3 separate regions of the Homo sapiens genome follow, and all the other regions are linked to region 3. The links are contacts of gene promoters, found by promoter capture Hi-C in blood cells and fetal thymus (Javierre and others, 2016). All regions are on one chromosome and are shown on one strand. The core of a region is centred on a gene start or on the middle of the fragment in contact, and the rest is flanking DNA. Distances in the headings are between cores, read along the strand shown. Region 1 has its middle 93 kb from the start of CEP164. Region 2 overlaps DSCAML1 (DS cell adhesion molecule like 1). Region 3 holds the start of TMPRSS13 (transmembrane serine protease 13).

The links. Contacts are between HindIII fragments. The CHiCAGO score rates a contact against its expected background, and 5 or more counts as called.
Region 1: a fragment that was not itself captured here is called in contact with the fragment with the promoter of TMPRSS13 in region 3 in 4 of 17 cell types (M0 macrophages, M2 macrophages, M1 macrophages and 1 more); the score reaches 8.2 in M0 macrophages.
Region 2: a contact is called between a fragment that was not itself captured here and the fragment with the promoter of TMPRSS13 in region 3, in 3 of 17 cell types (M1 macrophages, M0 macrophages and endothelial precursors). The highest score is 12.6, in M1 macrophages.

The regions. Positions count from the first base shown.
Region 1 is chr11:117,418,257-117,423,176 of GRCh38, forward strand. No RefSeq gene overlaps it. Among named protein-coding and RNA genes, the nearest start is that of CEP164, 93 kb to the left of the region's middle. RefSeq lists an enhancer at 2,005-2,505. The HindIII fragment of the contact is 1,269 bases long and covers 2,787-4,055 here.
Region 2 is chr11:117,441,415-117,445,753 of GRCh38, forward strand. DSCAML1 (DS cell adhesion molecule like 1) reads right to left here. Exons shown (of 33, transcript NM_020693.4): 21 at 2,472-2,625. Among named protein-coding and RNA genes, the nearest start is that of CEP164, 120 kb to the left of the region's middle. RefSeq lists an enhancer at 1,142-2,122. The HindIII fragment of the contact is 1,541 bases long and covers 1,628-3,168 here.
Region 3 is chr11:117,927,610-117,931,957 of GRCh38, forward strand. It overlaps TMPRSS13 (transmembrane serine protease 13), which reads right to left and starts at 1,793. Exons shown (of 13, transcript NM_001077263.3): 1 at 1,678-1,793. The coding sequence starts at 1,698. The HindIII fragment of the contact is 10,649 bases long and covers 1-4,348 here.

The sequences.
Region 1 (4,920 bases), core at 2,171-4,670, 510 kb before region 3:
TCCACCGCTCTCCTAGTGACCCGTCCCCCTGTAGGGCCACTGCTGGGGCAGCTTAGGCACTAGGCCTGGAAAGGGGCAAAGGTAGGGAATGGAGCTGGGACTCTCTTGGATTACCTATTATGTTAGGCTGGCTTCAAGGCTCTATCTCATGCCTCCAAAAGACCTGGGCTCAAATTCTGACGCCCAGGCACTAGTGGAGTATCTTTGGGAAATGATCCTCTGCCTAAGCCTCAGTTTCCTTATTTGTATAATGGAGCAGAAGATACCACACACACACAGGGTGAATGAAATAACCTAGGACAAGTACTTTGGGTGAAGCACCTTGTAAACTACAGAGTGTTGTGGAAATGCAAGTGTTTGTTGAACCTCTGCTTGAATGCCTCCAAGGACAAGGTGCTCATCACCCCTGAGGTAGCCAGTCCTGCTGTTGAGCAGTTCTGAACTGGCTGAGGGGGAGTCTTCTCTTACAGTTCTGCTGTGGACTCACACAGAAAAAAATGTCCCTTTACTTCTTCCACATGATAGAATGAAATAGGGTCACAGAACCCTCTCCCGTCCGCTGCTTGTCCCCCTTATGAACATACATGAGTGTATGCACATGCAGGGGTTAAAGTGTAGTGCATGCACATTTGGATTCTCACAGGGCCTCTTACTAATAAAGTAGCCTCTGTTTGCTTACTACCAGCCAGTGCAAAGGCCTTTACCTATCTACAGCTCTCAAAGATCCTCATAGCAATCTTATGAGGTAGACAATGATCTCCATTTTACAAGATGAAAAAAGAAAGCGAGAGAGCCTTGGAAGGTTAAGCTATTAGGTTGCAGAATGAGAGTGCAAACCAATGGCCTGTAGTGCAGTTGTTCACGTAGGCACTTGTGTGGACACTGCACACCCTCATGAGTATGCGCCCTCCCTCCCGGCACAGGGATTGGAGGGCGAGGTTGGGGGCTGAGAAGGAGGTCCGGGGCAGCCTCTTTCTTTGTGTGAAGAGGGAAGGTCTCCCCAGGGAAGGCCTTCTGCTCTACCTACCCTTTCTCCTCCTCCTACGTGCTCTCTTCGGCTTCAGAGGCCGGCAGAGTCTGACTAAAGGCAAGACAGCGGTGGTGCCTTCAAATAAATAGCTGTTGTCTCATCCTCAGCCCCATTTCCTCTTGGAGAAAGTTGGCAGGCCCTGGGGCCACAACAGCATCCACTCTGTTGTAGCTACAAAGAGAAGATGGTAAGGGTAGTGCCCGGGTGCTCCCCTCCTCAGAAACCTCCTCCTGGGAGCAGTCAGACAGATCTGTGGCTCTGCCATTGACCACCTCTGTGCTCTGGACAAGTGACTGTCCAGCGACTCAGCGTCGGTGTCTTCATCTGAGAATGAGCTCATTCCATGCACCCTGGAACATCTGCTGGGCTGCCTGTTCTCCTCACCCCATGCCCCCAGCGCCTGGGAAGTGCCAAGCACACAGGAGACCTCCCTAAGCAGTAGGTATTCCTGCACCCAAGGCCCGTGATGAATTCCCTCCCACTCCCTGGCATTGCAGACCCTACCCTTTTCTTAAGCTCTGCCCAGGGACACCCTGAAGCCCTACAACGGCCCTAACTCCTAAAAGGAATCCCTGCTTGGCTCAAGGGCGATCTGACCCAGGCGGTTCCTTGGAGTCTGGGCTGGGCTGCGGTGACACCCCTGGTGCCCCAAAATCCACCGTGCACTCCTCTAGTCTCTGAATCCCCATGGAGGGGTGTCAGAGCCTGGCAGGCGTGGGACCTGTGCCTCCTGGGGAAGGAGGCTGAGGTGGGCAGGACCCAGGGTGTCAGGCAGAGTCAGACACTGTAGAAATGCCTGGGGGAGGGTGGGGATGGGAGACTTGTAGTCTAAGCTTGCAGGACCTGCCAAGTCCCCTCTCCCTTGGTGTTGCCGACAGAGCCCCATGGTGGCTGGAGGCCTGGCTTTCGTGCGGGGCATTGGTCTGAGGCGGCTGGCCGCAGTGGTGGCTGGTGGTGGCTGCCCGGGTGCTGAGCCCGGATGTGTCCAGTCAGCGCGTACTGGAGATGCCACTTGTCACAAAGGCCCTGGCGGGGCTCAGCTGGGGACACGCAGGGCCATGCCTGGAATGGTGCCATCCACCTCCACTGGGCCCAGGAAGGGTGGAGCTCAAGAGAGAAAGAATGGCACCCACAGAGGCAGGACGTCTTAGGGCAGAGCTCACCATCTGGGTGATGCCTCCTGGGGGAGGTGAGGCATTGGCCCAGCATGGATGGGGTGGCATTTTACTGCGCCGTCCACCCTTTCTGGTGACTCCCAGGAGTTGGGGGCCCAGTGCTAGCTCCTGGTTGGGACTGATGACAGTGAATTTGAGGACATCAGAGGCCTTCAGAGCTTCCCTTTCTGCACAGGCTGTGAATCCTCTTGGTGAGCTTCAGTAGGTTCTCTAGGGCAGCAAGGGACCTTCATATCCCACCTGCTTCCCTGGACACAAATCTGGGCAGGAAAACAAACAAACAAACAAAAGCTGGGCATGGTGTTCCTCGCCTGTAGTCCCAGCAACTCGGGAGGCTGAGGTGGGAGGATCGCTTGAGGCCGGGAATTCCAGGTTGAGCGCACCATGATTGCGCCACTGTACTCCAGCCTGGGCAACAGCAAAACCCTGACCAAAAAAAAAAAAAAAAAGAAAGAAAGAAAAGAAGAAACAACAACAGCAACAACAAAACCTGGGCAGATGAGGCAAATCCTGGCTTCTCTGGAATCTGACCCTCTGGTCTGCTGGTTTGTATCTTGTCTAATCCCCATTTCATAGTTAAAAGCTTTTTAACCTCATTATTTCCTTTCAGTCTTATCAACCTGGCAGCATGGGAGTTATTCTCGCATTTCATAGAAGCGGAAATTGAGGCCCATGAGGGCGAAGGTGCTTTCCCGAGGTCACAGAGCTGGCAAGGGAGCAGCAGGATTGACTCCGCAGCCCCTGCGTTTCCATCGCAGTGCCCGCCACATAGTAGGAACTCTACACATGGCGCCTTCTGGGGGCCGCCTGGCTTTCTGGAAAGGATCCGAAGTGGTTTGGTGAGCACCGGCTTTGGAATTCAAACCCTGGCTGATGCCTCTTGCCGGCTGAGTGGCCTTGTACAAGTCACCTGACCTCTTTGACTTCTTTCTTAGCCAATAAAATGGAGATCACACATCTTCAGGGCAGAAATTACAAACACATTAATTTCCCATCCATAGATCCTTCCCACGAATCACCAAAGAGGAGGCCTGCCTTGCCTGCGGTTTCTCCCACCTCCTCTGCCTCCCCTATGCCCAACTGTTGCTGTTTCCTAATGGAAAATGGGGGGAAATGAATGTGAGAGAACATTCCCCAGAGGAGAGGAGGGCGGAGCTGAGCAGGGCTGGAGAAGAGCAGGCAGTGTGTGGGGGGATGTGGGAGGCACAGGCTCCGTAGGGTGTCAGCGGGTGTCACTTACATCTGCTCTTCGGACCCCTTCAGGATCACAAAAACAAAAGCAGATAACTTGAGTTATTTAAAACTTTCGTTTTGGTGGCTGAGTGGATTGAGGTTCTTTGACTGGCACTACGGCCCTGAGACACCACCACTTGGGTTTTGTGCTTATAGGAGTTACTCTTTTTTACAGGGTAGTGGTAAAACTAGGAGAGTATCCGTGCTAAGTGGTTATCAGGGTGCTTGACTCAAGTAGACTCTCAGCAAACGGCAGCAGGCATGATGGTATTCTGTTGTGTTGTTTTCTTGTAACTTGGGGACACTATGCGGAGAGAACCAATGTTTCAGGAGATCTCGGCCTTCACTGGTCTACTCCTTGCCCGTTTCTCCCACTGTTTACCCTTTGTTCATCTATGTCTAACATATGTTGTGCTCCTATTAAGTCAGGCACTGTCCCTTCTCTGGAAGAGACAGTGGAACCCTTCTCTGCCCTTGGGGAGCCTGTCTGCTGAGGACGATGTTCAAATACCATCTGTGGAGGGCTTCTGAGTTGGGAAGGGATGAGACTTGTTTTGTGGTGCCCCCCAGGAGTGGCAGTACCGAGCCTTGTGAGTAGAAGTTGGAGGGGCCACCCAAGCTTAGTGTGAGGGAGGTTTTGCTGTTAGAGCTGTCACAGGTGAGATGTGCTGGCTGGGGAAGTGATGAGTTCTCCATCAGGAGGTGTGCACGGGAAGGCCAGACCACTCTTGCTGATTGCAGATGGAATTCCCAATTTGGGTGGAAGCGTGGACCAGGTGGCGTTGAAGGTCTCTTTGAGTCCTGAGATTGTGCGATTCTTAGAGACACTAAAACCAAGTATGGATCACCTCCAGGGTAATCCAGCTGGCATCTATTCCTCCTTCGGCCTAGAGTATTGTTGTCATTGCCCAGAAGAGGACATGGATTCTGGGAGGAAGGACAGAGCCCTGACTCAGGGTTCATGCTCAGCCTGGTTCTCCCACCCTTCTCCTACAGACACACAGATGCCCTCCTCCTCTCTAAGCTCACCAGCGTCTCCCTTTGCCTTTCCCACCCTTTACCTGTATAGGAATCCAATATGTAGGGTAAGAGGAGGTGACATGGTATGGTGGGTGACATGGTATGGCAGGCGGTGCGGGGGAGGATGCCCTGGGCCTGATCTATCAAGGGAGAATTTCTATGGGGAGCCAAGTTCCCCTTCATCTCCTGCATAAATTAAGATGATGCTAATTGTTGTAAAATAAACTCCAAAGTATCGGTGCTTACTGCAAGTTTATTTCTTGCTCACATAAAGTCCAGCTGGCATTGAAGGGGATAGAGGGGCCTCTGCGCTACATCGATGTATAAGCCAGGGTGATAGAGGATCTGCCATCTTCAATAAGTGGCTTCCAAGTTCACCTTGGGCATTGACTTACAGTTGGAGAGAGCAGAGGGTGGCCAGGGAAGTTTTTATGAGCTGGACCTGAAAGTAGCGTGTATCAC
Region 2 (4,339 bases), core at 1,148-3,647, 490 kb before region 3:
TGACAGGGAAGTGACCAACTCTAGGATCAGCATGCACAGGCACAGAAGAGAGGACGGGAGTGTCCCAAGGGTGGTGGCGGAGGACTGGGTCAGCAGCATCACAGAAGGTGCGGGGCCACAGGTGCCCAGAGTGTGGTGGGTGGGTAAATGCATCTAGTGCCTGGGAGATCGCCAGGCCCAGATTTAAAGGAACCAAGTGCCCAAGTGCCTCAGAGAGTAGAGGAGGCCCATGGAGCTGGGGCCCTTCTTGGGGTGGAGGGAGAGTGAGAGTGAGGGAGCAGCTGAGAGGTTCAGGTGCATGGCGTGGGGGTGGGCTCCTGTGCTGGTCGTGCCAGGTGCCAAGGGGCTCTCAGAGCAGGGGAGTTCTGGGGTCTGCTTGGAGCAGTGGGGGCACCAGACAGGCCCGGCAGAGGGGTCCACATGAAGACGGCCTCCATGCGGGGGCGGTGAGAAGCCTGGGGGCTTTGTGGGTGTTCTCAGAGTTTCTCCAGAGATCAGGTTCCAGACCTGGTTTTGCCACAGGCTGGGGTTGGCTCCCTGAATCTGTGTCTCAGGGTGTGTGTGCATATGTGTGTGTATGTGTGGGTGTGTATGTGCATCTGCATGTGAGTGTGTGTATGTGTGTGTGTGTGTTAGTGTATGTGTGTGCGCAGATGCGTGTTTGTGCACATGCATGTGAGTGCATGTTGTGTATGTGCATATGTGAGTGTGCACGTGTATGCATGTGTGTATGCGTGTGTATATGCGTATATGCATGTAGTGTGTATAGTGTGTATGTGTGTGCATGTGTGCATGTATTAGTGTGTCTAGTGTGTGTGTGCGTGTGTATGCATGTGCATATGTGTGTGCATGTATTAGTGTGTATAGTGTGTATGTGTGTATATGTGTGCATATGTGTATGCATGTATTAGTGTGTATAGTGTGTATGTGTGTGCATGTGTGTATGCATATATTAGTGTGTATAGTGTGTGTATGCATGTGTGTGCACATTAGTATGTGTATGTGCGTAAATGTATGTGTGGGTCTGTGTGTATAAGTGTGTGCGCGTGCATATGCATGTGTTTGTGCGTGTGCACATGTATGAGTGTGCAGTGTGTGTGTGCGTGTGTGTGTATGGGGGAAGGGGGCAGGAGTGGTTGTCTTTCCCACCTCACAGGGCGGCTGTGAGGTGACGCTGTGTGAATGTGTTCTAGGAAGTCCACAGCTCTCTAGGACCGTGTTTATTTAATGCCCCCAGGAGAAGAGGCCAGCCTTCTGCAAAGATGCCCAGCCCTCACACTCCTGCCTCTGGGCCAGTGCTAGCTGTTCTGGAAGGGTGATAGGCTTTAGGCCCCTTCCCTTCCTGAAGAAGAGGTTGGTGGTAGGGGTTAGGGGGTGGTAGGAGGTGCTGAGGCTGTGTGGAAAGAGCCCTGACTTGGCGCTGGGAGAGCTAGCTCACTCCTTCCCGGTTGTCTTTGCAGCCCATGCCACTCCTGCCTCAGGTTGCTCAGCTGTGGAATGGGTCAACAAGCCCTGCTGGCAGGGCAGGTGGAAGCCCCTGGCCCACCGTAGGCCCTCGATCAGATGCTGGCTGGCTCTGAGCCCGCGGCAGGGTAGGGCTTGGGGCTCTTGTGTTTGGGCCAAGAGAAGCTTGAGTGGCCCCGGTAGGCTGGCCAGGCTGCGCAGGCACCACCTCCTCTCGTCTGGGCTGCGGTGGATAAGAGAGTGGGGGAGTGAGGAGGGGCCCAGGGAGGCCCAACGGCAAGTAGAGGACCTGCGGTCCTGGGCTAGTTGTGGCCAGTTCCTACGCCCCAGGGAGAGGCAGACGCTCAGCCTTGCAGCTCTACCTGCGCGGCTGCTACAGCTTGCCCTTGGGATGAGGCCTTGGAAGTGTCATTCCTCTGAAAAGTGGGGGTGCAGCCCCCATGGCACACCCATGTCCCGGTCAGAGATTCAGTGGGGCACTCCCTAAGAGGGTCTGATTCTAGCCCAGAGCCTTCCTTCACAGCACGCGCTCCGTAAAGGTCTGCGGATCGCAGGAATCCGCCATCGCTGGAATCACCCCTGCCCGGTGTCCAGTTCAGCACGGGGGCTCTCCTTTGAGCCTCAGCTGCTCTGTGGAAGCAGCACACCCGGCTGTAGCCACCTCTGGAGGAGCTGAGCATTGGGACAAAGGCCCGGCTTTGAATTGGGGGTAGAGGCGACTCCCCCTTTTTCAAGCTGGGAGTAGGGTTTGGACTCGGGAACTGAGTGCACCCTGTCCACCCGCCCCAGGCAAGAGCCGGAGGCAGCCTGTTGTGAGGCTTTGCTGGAGTCAGGGGGCAGCAGAGGCCCAGTCTTGGTGTGTGCGGGAGGCAGGCGGGTGGCCAGTTCCTCACAGCTGGGTGGCAGATAAAGCGGAGCAGGCAGAGACCCTGTCTGGGGAGAACCAGGATTCTGTAAGGGAGCTTTTGGAAGTGTTTGCCCCTCTGCCACAGCCTCAGGCTTCTCACCCTTGCCAGCAGGCTCGATGGTCACCTTCTCGCTGCTGTTGCCCCGGCCGGCAGAGGTGACGGCGGCCACCCACAGCAGATACTGCTGACCGCGGTTTAGGTGGGCGATCCGGTAGAAGAGCTGCTCTGGACTCGTCTCGTACTCGCTGGGAGCCTGCGGGGCAGAGGCAAAGAGGCTCTAAGAAGCAGAACTGGGGCCCTCCAGCGTCCAAATCTTCCTCAGTGCCCGGGGCTCAGAGGAGAGGATGGCGGGGTCGGATGCGAGGCAGGATTCTGTCCTATTTGCCCTTTCCAAGTTTTAGAGATGCAGCGGACAGAGTGTGCCCTGGGTTTGGTCCCTGGGAGCTGATGGGCCTGCCTCGCGGTGTTGCTGGGTCAGCCTCAGTTTACCTCTTTAACTGATCCACGCTCTGGCAGCTGTGGCTCAGGCCAGGGGATGTGAGTACTTTAGGTGAGGGACGGGGTAGCCAGGAGAAGGGAGAATGGGGGACAGGGGGTCCCAGGAAAGCCCTGAGGAAAGAGTCTTCAGGAAGAAGGCAAATGACTGCCTCTGCCTGATGAGGGTTGGAGACAGGCTCCTGCAGCCTGCTCTGGCTCCCGTCACCTCCTAGCCCTGCCGTCTAATTACCACTCCTGCATTTTGCAGGCAGCACGCCCGCCCGTCCAGGGAGGAGGGGGCGGGAGAAGGAACTATGAAAGCTTTACTGGGTAGCACTTTATTAATGATTATTAGTGGTATAGATCACCATATATATTTGTAGGTTATACAAATCTATAAAATTTTTTTTAACAAAATGACAGTTTTGACAAGTTGCCAACAAAACAATATCGGATCCCAGTGGTTTTACCAGTTGCTTTGATGAAAAGATTATGTTGCCTTGGAAACCAGAGGCTCAGATATTGAAATGAATTTGAGAAGGAGCTTTTGATAAGCGCTAGTTTGCAGACCTCCTGTCAGCCTCTTCCCTGGCACGGGCGGGATGGGGCTGACTTTCATTTTATTTTATTTTTTGGTCAGCCGCAGGGAAGGGAGAGGAGGACAGCACCAGGGCCCCTTTGAAAACAGAGCGGAAGTCCAGGGAGGGAGAGCAGCCCCAGAACAGATGGGGGCCCGAGGCCAGAGGGAGCTAATAATTAGTTATCTCTGCAGTCACAGGATCTTGCACACACACGCTCACAAGCACACACACATGTAGACGCATGCACACATGCTGAGGAACAGACCTCCAGGCATGTATGGGCACAGAGGGACATTCTTCATGCCCCATAGTGGGGCTGAGAGGCCCAATAACTTATAACAGGAGGAGACATCCTTTTTGGCCCCAGGCCATCTGCAGGGAAATGTTAGGGGAAAAGGCACAGGCATCTCTGCAACACACACACACAGCTCCCTGGCATATTCCTCCTGCCTCCCTCGTGGGGGTCTGGCCTTGAATCCAGGAGGTCCGGGGGGGCAGGTGCAGAGCCACCCTTGAGCCCTGGTGGTTGGGAAGCCCTTTCAGGCCACAGCACCCTGGGACTGGTGTGCGTATCTGTCGTTGATATGTGCTTGAAGTGTGGGGTAGTGTAGTGGCTTCAACACCCTCCTGCCCTTCCTCCTGGGCATACAGCCCGTAAGGTTGCCCATAGTTTCTGGACGCTGTTTTCTCTCTTGCAAACTAGGGAAGCAATACAGCTCTGCCCAACCTGTGTGTGACTGAGGCACAAGGAGGCAGGGGTGTGCACGTCCTTTGTAAACTAGGACATATTCTTCTCCGGGCTTGTTTTTGGTGACAGTACAGGAACGTATGTGTTTCTATGTACATGTGCATGTGTGGAGAACAGCTGAGTGTATGTGCTTGTGTGCATCAGTGTATACCTGAGTGTAT
Region 3 (4,348 bases), core at 543-3,042:
ATGCATCTCTCTGCAATAAAGCCCTCAAGGAGAAGGCACAAGCTCAGGTGACCAGCTTCTCCCAGACCACTCCTATTTAATCAAGGTTAAGAAACCTGCTGCAGATGGGAATACGAGCCCCAACTATAGGCTCACTCTCTCAGAGTTCCATCTTAAATAGGGGAGTGAAGTTAAGAACCTTAAATAAGAATGTAATGATTCCATTCTTCCATTCCAAGGTAAGTTTGGACAATCTTTTTTTCAGAATGAATATGGCACCTATCATAATATTTGACACTTAATTCATAGATTAATTGGGAGTTCCTCAAAGAAGTCTGTTCTCTGTCCTGTATCCCTCCAGCAGCCTTCATGTTGATCCCTGACTCTGAAGAGATGAGCTTCCTGGGAAGATATCGCCCCATCACCCTGTCTCAGGGATGGACTATCCATCTCCAGTGGGAGCATGGCCACCCTCCGGATAGCTCAGCCCTTCTCACTCTTGGGTTTAGGGACCATCTAGTTTAGGCTCCCAGCATATTGCCAAGGAGGATGCCCCATGGCTGTGACTAAGGGTTCACCTTCTGCATGCCCTTGTGTACCCCCCTTACTGCTCAACAGTAAGAGGCTCTGATAACCCCCCAAGGCCTAGGGCCAAGTGACTTTGGTGAGGTAGAGACATGAACGAAGGAGCCCAGAGCAGAGGGCAAGGGAGGCAGCCTGGGAAAGAAAAGTCAAGAGGGGGCTGGAAGAATGGTGGGAAAAAAATGATGGTAAAGTTTGCAGAAACACATTGGGGGTGCAGAATGGACCACAAGCCAACTATAAGCCAAAACATAGGATGAGCTGATCTTTCCCAAACCCAGTGCTAGCCCATTCTTCCCAGAGTCCCAGGCTCTACCATGTCGGTAAGGTACAGAGAATTTGGAGGGGGCAGAAAACAAGACCTAAAGGAGAAATGAGAGCACAAAAGGGATTTCCTGGAGGAAAAGAAAGTGGAGGCACAGCAGAACAAGATCTTTGGAAGCCTTCATGTGTGTATGACTGGCTTTCCCACAGAGGACAGGCCAGCTGCTTTCTCCTACCCCAAGAGCAGCAGAAGAAAGGAAGTTGAGTGGTAGCAGGACTTGTGGTTAAACATCAAGAAGCACTTCCCAAGCATGAAAGTTATTAAGTCCAAAAAGAAGTGACCAACGGAGGTTGAAACATCCCCTTGAAAATCTTGAATGCACCCAGAAAGTCACAGTTTTCTGGGAAGGTTTAGGAGTGTAGTGAGGGGTTTAGACAAGATGCCCCTGAATTGCAGTTAGAATGCTTTTGATTTTCCAACCAGCAAAAATGAGATTAAAGTAGATTAGCCTGGATTCCCAATCGGCAAAGTTGGTGCTGTAACACTATGGATGCCCGGCAGGAGTGCTCACAGACCACAGAGCAGGAAACCCACGACTCAGCCACATAGCCCTGGGGTGCTCACCAGCCAGACCCCAAATCCCAGCAGCTTCTCCTCCCAGGGGCTTTTTCTAGAACCACGTTAAAAGGAGACCAAGAGATCTTGATCGTAAGTAGCTTCAAACTAGAAGAGGCACAGCCAGTTTCCCCCAAACCTGAAACACAGAGGTAGCTGTCCCACCTGTCTCCCAGCCTCAGCCCTGCTTCCTCAGCGCTGGGAGAATCTGGCCCGAGGCCTGAGGTCACACTCACCCCGTGGCTGTCCCTCTCCATGGTCTCTGAGGGGAAGAGTCCTCCAGGCTTAGCTGATGTCGAGGAGAAGATCCATCTTGGTCCCTGGCTTCTCAGGCATGTAGGGTAAAGGAGTTGGAGGGCCAAGGGCCAGCCCCCACCAAATGGGGCGGGGAAGCCGGTTGGGACGTGTGAAGTAATCCCCAGTATAAACAACACAGAACTAGCCAGACCTGTTCCTCTGCCCCTCATCGAGGCCATCCCAGTTACTCAGCGAATACCAAATTCCAAATACCGGGAACCTGAAGCTGCCTTTACTCATGAAACTGCCCCCACAGAAGCAGAGGAGTGTTCTGAGCTACTTCTTCAGAGGGGCCCTGAGAGAAAGGGCAGAGCCTTGAGAGGATGGTCTTGGTCCTGTTGACCTGAGCCCCTGAAACAGATGCTCCAGAGCCTTCTGAGGGATGACCCTATCCCCACAGGGGACGTTCCAGGCCAGGGGCAGAGCCCCACCTATGGCAGGACAGTGGGAACCTTCATCTCCAAGGACCAGGTGTCCAAATCCCAAATCAGGGCACATGGTCTCTGGGCGCATGGTCTGGCAATTGCTTTCTCCTGAACTCTGTTTGTTTTTATGAAACTCTTAACAAAGAAATGAAAATCAAATGACCTTTAATTATGCACATCATGAATTGCCCTCTATTGAAAACAATAAAGTGCCAGAAGCAACACATCAAAGTCAATGAAATAAAACATAACTATCTGAATGGAAACTGTTCCAAGAAACATTGGGCTGACTCGTGATCCCAAACCTATACCCTATTCTGATCCTCAGAGTCAAAAGAAGTAAAGGAAGGGCTATTGCAAAAGGAGTCCTTAGCACCTCCGGCTAAGTTCCAGCTGAGCTGCTGCTGAGAACTGCAAAAAAAAAAAAAAGAAAAAGGAGTTCCTGTTGAGGTTTGGGAAGAACTTTCTTGAGCATTCAGAGGCACCAAGATTTTTAGAGTTTGAAAGAAGCTCATGGATCTTTAGTGGTTCACTCTTTTCATTTTACAGACTGCGAGACAGAGGGCCAGAGAGGCTAAGGAATGTGCTCAAGTCACACAGCAAACAACAGCAGCAGCAATAATCTTAAGATGCCAAGAATCCTGCGAAACACTTCACACGCATCCTTCACGTGTTCATTCAACAAATATGTATTGAGTGCCTGGCATTGCTTTAGGTGCTGGGGACACAGGAACAAAATAGGCAAAGCCTCCTGCCCTGTGGCTCTAGTATTTGCGGGTTGGGGGGAAAAAGCAGACAAAAATCAATAAATCAGTTACACAGCCTCCTAGAAAGTGAAAAGTGCCGTTCACAAAAACAAAGCAGCGAAAGGATCCAGAAGGTAGGGGAGGCAGAGTCCTGGCAGTTGGGAACAGGATGGTCAGAGAGGGCTCTCTGTGGTGACATATTTGAGCAAAAACTGAAAGGAAGTGACTACTATCGCCCCCCATTTACATTCAAGAAAACGGAAACTTCTAGCTCACAGTGGAAACTGTGCCCCAGCTTAGGGTGTCTTGAGGGAAATCTAACCCAGAGGCAAGAGGCTGGAGGAGAGAACTCTGGAGGGCCCAGGCAGGGACCCTAGAGTTCTCTCATCTTGGCTTATTGTGGGAGCCACTTCCCTGGCTTTCAAAGAGAGCAGAATTCAGCCACAGGCCACATCCCCTTCCTGCCCCATCCACCAGCCCACCATGACAAAGGGGCCCCTCCCATCCATCCTCCTGAGAAGATACCCACCTCCTGTCCTCAGCTGCTCCTCTTCCCTCTCTCCCAGGGAGGAGCCCAGCCCCTCTCTGGCTGCCACTGAGCCCTGGCACGCCCAGGCCAGATCCGAGGGCCTCCACTTCATCCCCCAGGCAGGCCACTGGTCTCCGAAGGGCACCCTCAGCCTCCTTCCCTGAAGGTCCCACCAACCTAGGGAAAGAGCTCAGGCTTGGGGGTCTGGGCGAGTTCGGGGGAATGAGAACCCTAACTCTGAGGGGAACTCGCAAGGCCTGACAGGTTCACCATCGGGAAAATGAGAACACATAGAACCAGAGGAAGTGCCTGGCACGGGGCACAGGGCACTGGGAAGGCTGGGAAGGAACATCAGTTTCACCTCTTGCTCTTTTCCTTGGTTTGCATCAGAGACACAAGTTGGCCTGTCCCAGAGTCCTCGCTGACAAAGCAGTCTGACCCGTGTGACATCCCCACCAAGGGCAGTTCAGTTCAGCAAGGATTGACTGCTCAGCACCAGGCCCACGGTGGCTGCTGGGGAGTGAGAGTGGTGGGCAAAGAACAGAAAGGCAGGGGCCCTGCCCTGGGAGAACACACAGTTGATGTGTTGGGGCGGGTGGCGGGGGGACACTGAGGAATGAAATTCCTAGCTGGTGGTTTTCCTATTTTCAGAGTGAAGGCGCTGCGGCAGCACAAGACCTGGATGCTTCCCCCACAGAGCTGGACTTAGAGGCCTGCACCGCTTTTGACTTCCCCACTGACCCTGGCCTGGCCCTTTCCTTCCCCCTCCTCCCGGCCTCCTTTGCTGTCCTCCTGACTGTACAATCCCAGGCTCTCTCTGACTCCCACCCTTTCCTTTGCCTCCTTCTCTCTGGCCTTGGTCCCTGGCTTTCTCCCTTCAGCTCCCTGGTTGCCTTCTGGAAAGACACCT